Linked DNA regions of Homo sapiens: region 2 is linked to region 1. The links are contacts of gene promoters, found by promoter capture Hi-C in blood cells and fetal thymus (Javierre and others, 2016). All regions are on one chromosome and are shown on one strand. The core of a region is centred on a gene start or on the middle of the fragment in contact, and the rest is flanking DNA. Distances in the headings are between cores, read along the strand shown. Region 1 holds the start of EIF2B4 (eukaryotic translation initiation factor 2B subunit delta). Region 2 overlaps GPN1 (GPN-loop GTPase 1).

Evidence for each region. The method cuts DNA at HindIII sites, captures the fragments that hold promoters and counts their contacts. A CHiCAGO score of 5 or more calls a contact.
Region 2: a fragment that was not itself captured here is called in contact with the fragment with the promoter of EIF2B4 in region 1 in 13 of 17 cell types (naive B cells, megakaryocytes, erythroblasts and 10 more); the score reaches 13.7 in naive B cells.

What each region holds. Positions count from the first base shown.
Region 1 is chr2:27,368,480-27,372,775 of GRCh38, forward strand. It overlaps EIF2B4 (eukaryotic translation initiation factor 2B subunit delta), which reads right to left and starts at 1,859. Exons shown (of 13, transcript NM_001034116.2): 1 at 1,805-1,859; 2 at 1,397-1,440; 3 at 935-1,070; 4 at 527-733; 5 at 175-254. The coding sequence starts at 1,835. SNX17 (sorting nexin 17) reads left to right here and starts at 2,137. Exons shown (of 15, transcript NM_014748.4): 1 at 2,137-2,327; 2 at 2,790-2,864; 3 at 4,144-4,261. The coding sequence starts at 2,265. RefSeq lists enhancers at 1,105-2,066, 1,540-1,819, 2,040-2,129, 2,067-3,028, 2,150-2,209 and 1 more. The HindIII fragment of the contact is 1,836 bases long and covers 1,202-3,037 here.
Region 2 is chr2:27,632,925-27,637,220 of GRCh38, forward strand. GPN1 (GPN-loop GTPase 1) reads left to right here. Exons shown (of 14, transcript NM_007266.4): 6 at 1,922-2,000; 7 at 2,216-2,310. Among named protein-coding and RNA genes, the nearest start is that of GPN1, 6.0 kb to the left of the region's middle. The HindIII fragment of the contact is 9,452 bases long and covers 1-4,296 here.

The DNA of each region.
Region 1 (4,296 bases), core at 609-3,108:
AACAGGACCAATGGCCCAGAGTTTAAAAAGGATGGGATAAAGCTGGAAAGGAAGTGAACAGTAAGACTACTCTGACCCAAGCACCTATCCTTCTCACTTTGCACCCAGCACCTTTCCTCCCTCCAGTCCATTTCCCTAGGCTCTTTCTAGCCAGGCACCAAACCCACTTCCTACCTGTTGACGCTCTGGTTTTTTAACAAGCCTTCTCAGAAGTAGGTCATCAACCTGAGGGTACTCAGGGAGACGCTTCACTCCTGAAAGATAATCATCATGTTTTCAGGACACTGTAGGTCTTGAAATGTGTAATTTGCTCTTAGGGTATAAGGGGCATCAAGAAAAACAGGATGAGGTGGAGAAAACGGGAGAATAGGGTAGAAAAGGAAATAGGGATAGGATAATGGGGTTGCAGGAACAATTCAGAACTCTGGGTCCCAAGAATGAGAGGGGAGAGCTGTTTTACTATTGGGCAGCCTGAGCTGGCGTTATAATTAGGAGTAAGGGAGGTCTTAAAATGAAGGGAAGATACCTGAGGGGGTTTCTCCAGCTGTGCTGGGGCTGGCCTTAGGAGGTGGTCCTCCTTGTTCCCCTTTTCTTGCCTGTTTCAGGGCCCGCTCGGCCTCCTGCTTGGCTCGACGCTCAGCCCGAAGTTCGGCCTTACTCCGACCAGCTGGAACTTTCTCCCGAGGAGTGCCCAACTGAATGCCCGATTCTGGCAGTTCTCTGGTTGGGCCTACTAAAAGCATTAAAAAAAAAAATGCCCAAGCTGCAGGCAGGTGATATCCGTGCCCCAGCTAAAACTAGCTTCTCTCCTTGTAAACCTCTTTGCTTTACACACTTGCTCAAATCAACTTTGTCCTGTCTCTCCCTTATCTCTCCCACCACATCCCTCTACCAGCTCCACACCCCAGCCCTTTAAAAGAGACCCCTCACTCACCTTGACATTGGGCTGCAGATACAGCAGAGCCAGTCTCTGGTTCTGCCCCCTTTTCTTCCTTCCGTTTCTTCTTCTGCTGTTTCTTTTCCTTCCGAAGCTGCAGCTTTTCTTCTTTGGTCATTTCCCTCCCCACTGCCTGAGACACAGACATAGGATACTGCTCTTCCCCAACAATTCCAAAGGGGAACAAATACTATTGGATGCTTACAAGATTTCCACATGGTTAAATCCCTAGTTCTTCCTAACTTCCACAAGCTACCTGTTGCAAGCTTACATCCACAGAGGCTGACGTTTCTCCTCCAGGGACAGAATCATATATCCCTAGGGTTGCAAGACCTCTGTAAAATCTCCTGGCTTTACTGAGAAATAAACCGACACGGGATGGGAGCTGGGGCGGAATAAAGCTGGCACAGCCTCCTGCGTAGCGCTTGGCAGGCGGCTTGGGAGGGAAGCCTCACTTACCCCAGGCCCAGGGGGAAGCTCCGCCTTCATCCCGGATCCCGAGTCTGCATCAGAAAACAGGGCACAAAGTGAGCCAGAGAGACTCCGGGAGGGTTTGGGGGCACGAGTACTCGGCGCAGCCGGCTGCTGGGTTGGCATGACCACGGATCCGCCGGCAGGCGCGAGGCGAGCCAGGGATCCGCGTGGGGACGCACTGCGCGGCGGATCAAAGGAATGGAGGGGTCACCGACCCTCCTCACAGCAACCAGCCGGTGCGCGGCGCGGGACTGCGCTCGAGACTGTGTAGACCGGAGCCCAGCGTGGCGCTGGAACGGAGCGGCGGGGCCCAAAGGCGCTCAAGGCCCGGCACTAGCTGTCCGGAGCTCGTCGGCTCCGCGTACCAGTAGGCAGGCCCGGCTCTTCACTCACCCTCGCGAACAGCCACGGCCACAGCAGCCATCGCCCTCAGTCCTAGGCTCCGCCCGCCGTGGTCACGGAGCCGCCCCGCTGCCTCGCTCCGCGGCTGCAGGGTCCACAGCGCCACCTGGGCTGGAGGCTGAGCCGCAGAAGCGAAGCGCGCAGCCCCAATCGGACTACAATTTCCGACGGGCCCCGAGGCCCCGCCCCGCACTACGGGTTGCAATGAGGGCCAACTCCACTTTGGGCTCCCTATCCGGACAGGTGGCTCTTGCCCTTTAGACTACAGTTCCCAGCATGCCCAGGCGATTGCGTCCCAGAACCGACGTCCCACCGCCTTCCCACATCGGATCGCAGGGCTCCCAAAATGGCGAGTGAGGCTGCGGGGACTCGCTGAGCAGCGGAGGGGGAGCGTGCAGAGCCGCTGCGGCCCTCACAGTCCGGAGCCCGGCCGTGCCGTGCCGTAGGGAACATGCACTTTTCCATTCCCGAAACCGAGTCCCGCAGCGGGGACAGCGGCGGCTCCGCCTACGTGGTGAGGAGCGGCCGGAGCCGAGCCGGGCCGGGCAGGGGCGGGGATAACGGGCCCGAGCCATCTCGGAGCGGCCTCTGAGGCCTGACCGCCACCCTTCGGGCCTGGTCCTGGGCCGCCGACTCCCGACGGCCTCTCTGGGAGCTTATCTCATGTGTGTGATTCGTGCAGTGGTCGCCCGAGCTCCTGTAGGCCCTTAGGCCGGGTCGCTTCCCCGAGCTAGGCCGCAGCTGCCCTGGTGGGCGTCACTGGCCTCTTGGGCAGTGAGACTGCAACACAAGCGTCCGAATTTCCCCCGGACTGGCTCTTCAGCTTTGGGACTTGGCCCTGGCGAAAACAAGCGAACTATCCCTCGGGAGATTAGCGCGTTACTCCGGCGAGTTGCCAGGCAACTTCCGGCCAGGGTTCTCAGGGGGGTTGCGCAGACCGCAACCCTAAAATGCTTGACTACTTTTGTGTCCTCAGGCCTATAACATTCACGTGAATGGAGTCCTGCACTGTCGGGTGCGCTACAGCCAGCTCCTGGGGCTGCACGAGCAGGTGGGACTAGCACCCCTGCCTTGAGACAGCTTCAAGCCCTTCCCTACACGTGGACATCAGTGTCTCCCTTTACCCGCTCTTCTTGTTCCCGTAGGCTGTAGTTCCCCTTTAATCACTGCCACAGGGTAGGGCCCTGGTTTATCTTGTCTGACATTTCCGGGAACTCCCTAAGAAGCTTAATGTCCGCGCAACAACTGCTCCTTCCTGTTCTTATATTCTGGTTTTCTGTCCAGTCTTACTGCTCTAGTAGCCTTTACCCCTGCATGGACAAACCAACCCCTCCCCCCACTACCTCCACCCAGGCTGTCAAAGCACATTCCTTCTGTCATCTGAGCGGCAACTTGAAATTCTTTTCCCTGCTTATACAAACGATTCACCGATTTCCTTTTGTGTTCTTCGGCTCATTTCAGTGTGTTTAGCTGTGCCAATTATCGTTATGTATCTGTGATGCAATGTTTCTCCTCCTTCCTTACCAGATCTTAAACTCTATTTAACTCAGTAGAGCTCCACTGATAATTAGTTGTGCAACCCTGAACAAGTTACCTGATATCTTTTTTTGGGACGGAGTTTCTCTCTTGTTGCCCAGGCTGGAGTGCAGTGGCACGATCTCGGCTCACTGCAACCTCTGCCTCCTGGGTTCAAGCGATTCTCCTTCCTCAGCCTCCTGAGTAGCTGGGATTACAGGCGGCTGCCTCCACACCCAGCTAATTTTTGTATTTTTAGTAGAGAGGGGTTTCACTATGTTGGCCAGGCTGGTCTCAAACTCCTGACCTCAGGTGATCCACCCACCTTGCCTCCCAAAATGCTGAGATTACAGGCATGAGGCCTGTAGAAACTGATTTCTTTGGGCCTCAGTTTCTACAACTGAAAGATGGATTCTTTGATCTGCAAAGTCCCTTTAAGTCCTAAGATATTTTGTGAACAGACTTAGCTATTAACTGTGCACTTTATAAAGCCCTTTCCTTCCTTTAAGGGTTCAGTGAACAGTCTTGCTAGGTGGTCAAGGGGCTCCCTATAGGTCCTGGCCCAGTACAAATCCTCCCCGTACTGTGGAGGGGCTGACTTGTACACAGTAAAATAGAGCACAACTTATATCTAGGACAGCTCCCTTGAGGTGCTACCGCTGTCAAAGGAATTGTTTCTCAGATGACCAGGGTAGACAGGGGAACAGGGACTGAGGGAAGGGAGGGGCACCCAAGAGAACATTATGAGCATATGTAGATTGCCTCATCTCATTTTCTGTGTTTATGTGAAGGGTTGTATCTCTTTCTCTAAATAGCTTCGGAAGGAGTATGGGGCCAATGTGCTTCCTGCATTCCCCCCAAAGAAGCTTTTCTCTCTGACTCCTGCTGAGGTAGAACAGAGGAGAGAGCAGTTAGAGAAGTACATGCAAGCTGGTGAGTGGTTGCAGGAAACTAGGTTGACTATATTG
Region 2 (4,296 bases), core at 219-2,718, 260 kb after region 1:
AGTTGTCCACCTGCCTTCTCTTGGGAAACCATGCTTGTTGTCATTAAAGTATCTGAAATACCTTTCTAATTCTTATTTAAATGAATATAGTCTACATGGTTCAGAGAAAATTTTTTAATTTACAGAGTGTCAGAATAGGAAATATTTGTTCTTATGGCCATTACCCAGTTAGCTGTTGTTCAAGGTTTACTTTTTTTAAAAAAGATAATTTATTGTTTTATAAAAATTCAAACCATGCATGATATTTATAAGATGAAACCATCACCCCGATTCCCACTAGAAGTAACATCATCATTCAGCGACTAGCATTCCACATTTCTATATACACAGATAGAAGGATGAATGGATAAAAGTGCTTTTACAAAAATGGGGTACTAGAGGTAGCTTTTGTTTTGTTTTGAGACAGGGTCTTGCTCTGTCGCCCAGGCTGGAGTACAGTGTAGTGATCTCAGCTCACTGTAACTTCCACCTCCCTGGCTCAGGTGATCCTCCCACCTCAGCCTCCCAAGTAGCTGGGACTACAGGTGTGAGCCACCACACCTGGCTAATTTTTGTATTTTTGTATTTTTGGGATGGAGTCTCGCTCTATTGCCTAGGCTGGAGTGCAGTGGTGTGATCTTGGCTCACTGCAATCTTTGCATCCCGGGTTCAAGCGATTCTCCTGCCTCAGCCTCCTGAGTAGCTGGGATTACAGGTGGCCTGCTACCATGCCTGACTAATTTTTGTATTTTTAGTAGAGATGGGGTTTCACCATGTTGGCCAGACTGGTCTCAAACTCCTAACCTCAAGTGATCTGCCCGGCTTAACCTCCCAAAGTGCTGGAACTATAGGTGTGAGCCACTGAGCCTGGCCTGGAGGTATTTTTTTTTTTTTAATGACAGCTTTATTAAGATATAATTCATATACCATAAAGTTCACTCGTTTAAAGTGTATGGTTGTTTTAGTCTGTCCACAGAGTCGTGTGTTGATAATTACTATCTTCAGAATATTTTTGTCATCCTGAAAAGAAACCCCATACTCATTACCAATCACTCCTTATTTTCTGTTCCCTTTAGCCCCTAGTGACTACCCCATTTTCCATTCCCATTGGCAATATGATTTCTCCACAACCAGTTCCTCCATAACCTTGCCAACTTTTGTTATTCTTCTTGTTTTTGATTATAGCCATTCTAGTGGATATAGAGTGGTATCTCATTGTGGTTTTTACTTTTATTTTCTTAATAACTAATGATATTGAACATCTTTTTAATGTACTTATTGGCCATTGGTATGTATATATTTAGAGAAATGTCTATTAGAATTCTTTGCCAATTAAAAAAATTCTGATATAATTCATAATTATATCAAATTAATTCACAAAAAAGTTGATATAGTTCATAAAAACAGCTTTATTGAGATAATTCACATACCATACAATTCACCCATTTAAGGTATACAATTCAGTGGCTTTTAGTATATTCACAGAATTGTACAACTATCACCACAGTCAATTTTAGAATATTTTCATCATCTCAAGAAGTAACCTGATATTCTTCAGCTAGCACTTTCCCATTCCTCCCATTCTTCTTCCTCTGTTCCACACTCACCCCCGCCCTAAGCAACCAGATGTTTCCCAAGAGATTTACATTCTGGTTTTGTGTCTTTCATTTTAAATGCATTGTGTTTCTATAAAAGTTTCCCCTGTGATCATTTGCAGCAACTCATGGTCTGCTGTTCCTGCCCATTGGCGTGAATATTGGTCATTGAACAAAGTCTAGGGGATCATCATGTGCAGTTTAGGGCCAGTAGGAGGAAGTTAGATTTGGCAGTGTGCAGAGGTTACTCCAGTCTTGGATAACCAGATGTTTATTGTCTTATATGATGGAATATCCTTCAGCATAACACAAATGTAACACTTCTTTAATGATCTTTCTTGACATAGATATGTGTTGATTGACACACCTGGACAGATTGAGGTATTCACCTGGTCAGCTTCTGGGACAATTATCACTGAAGCCCTTGTGAGTATTCTAGGACTTGCTACTGAGAGTAGCTAGAGGGGCTAGACTGGATGAGCATTTATTTTTAATTGCCTTGGACTTTATATGGGAGGAAGTTGTAGAAGCTCTGCACACCCTGCCTAAAGTGGTTTTCCCTTGTTAAGGATGGTGGAAAAAGAGTTTGAGGACAGATCGTGAGCCCTCTGACCAAGGCTTTGATTTTTTTGTGGCTTTAGGCATCCTCATTTCCAACAGTTGTCATCTATGTAATGGACACATCGAGAAGTACCAACCCAGTGACCTTCATGTCCAACATGCTCTATGCCTGCAGGTAATTGATTGTTGGTGGGGAAAGTGTTCCATCAAGGTATAAGGCCTTTTTCTCTTCTTCTTCCTCTTTTTTTTTTTTTTTTGAATCTGGTTGCTTACCCCTGGATTTGTGCTCATTCAGATTTGCTGTTCAGTTGAGTGGCTGTGAGCTGGGGAAGGTCAGAGGAGAAAAGAGGCACATGTGCTGTTGGCATTCTCTCTCAATACCCTCTGATCTTCCTCCCTTGTTGTTACAAAAAGGTGATGTATGAATATGAACTGTCTGATAGTTGTTCCCAGTTGGATAAAATCCAAGTTTAAAGATAAAGTCCTCTGGGCTGGGTCTGTCATCCCTACACTTGGGAGGCCAAGGTGGGAGGATCGTTTGAGCTTGGGAGTTTGAAACCAGGCTGGGGAACATAGCAAGACTCTGTCTCTACAAAAAATGTTTTAAAATTAGCCAGCGTGGTGGCACGCCCTTGTAGTCCCAGCTACTTGGGAGGCTGACGTGGGAGGATTGCTTGAGCTCAGGTGGTTGAGGCTGTAGTGAGCCATGATTGTGCCACTGCACTCCGGCTTGGGGCAACAAGAGCCTGGGGCAACGAGAGAGAGAGAGAAGAATAGAGTCCTCTGGCCTAAATGATGCTGGTAGAGTGAAATTGTAACATGAGGAGATACCATGAATAAGAAGATTTATCCATAATTGTAAAATGCACAGGTGGCCAGGCATGGTGGCTCATGCCTATAATCCCAGCACTTGGGGAGGCTGTGGTGGGAGGATCGCCTGAGCCCAGGAGTTTGAGACCAGCCTGGGCACCATGGTGAAACCCCATCTCTACAAAATATACAAAAAATTAGCCAGGGATGGTGGTGTGTGCCTGTAATCCCCGCTACCTGGGAGGCAGAGGTGGAAGGATTGCTTGAGCCTGGGAGGCCAAGGTTGGAGTGAGCTGTGATGATGTCACTGTACTCCAGGCTGGGCAACAGAGTGAGACCCTGTCTCAAAAAAATAAAATGCACTGGTTTGCCCCAAATGTGGCACCATTAGCAGAGGAAGGGCATGCCTCACTAGATTAGTGCATTAAGACTGAGGAGCAAGGCTGACAGTTATTAAAGCTGAGAGAATTTAATTTTGAGGGTACACAAATGCCATCACCAACATTTGTCTTTTCTGATATGACAAGGGATGTCCCTTTTTGGTGGATGCAAGAAATTGTGATCCAAATAGAAATCTGAAGATTGACAGCATTATTTCATTTTCATATTAATTATTTATTTATTTATTTATTTATATTTTTTCGAGACGGAGTCTTGCTCTGTCACCCAGGCTGGAGTACAGTGGCACAATCTCACCGTACTGCAATTTCCGCCTACTGGGTTCAGGTGATTCTCCTGCCTCAGCTTCCTGAGTAGTCACCACACTTGGCTAATTTTGTATTTTTAGTAGAGTCGGGGTTTCACCTTGTTGGCCAGGCTGGTCTCAAACTCCTGACCTCAAGTGATCTGCCCGCCTTGGCCTCCCAAAGTGCTGGGAATACAGGCATGAGCCACTGTGCCTGGCCCATTTTCATATTAATTGTTTAAAAGAAAATTATTTGATTTGCCTGATAGTGTTAATCATTTCTTTTTAAAAAAATTAATTAATTTATTTTTAGAGGTGGGGTCTCGCCATGCTGCCCAGGCTGGTTTTGAACTCGTGGGCTCAGGCAGTCCTCCCAGCGTGGCCTCCCAAAGTGCTCAGATTACAGGCATGAGTCACACCCCCAGCTGGTAATCATTTCATGATGAAACATACAGTTGATCCTTGAACAATTTGGGGGTTAGAGGCGCCAACCCCTGCAGAGACCAGCCGGGGCACCATGGTGAAACCCCATCTCTACAAAATATAAAACTTTGACTCCCCCCAAACTTAATTACTAAAGGCCTACTGTTGATTGGAAACCTTGCTGGTAACATAAACAGTAGATTAACACACATTACATATATATTATATGTATTATATGCTGTA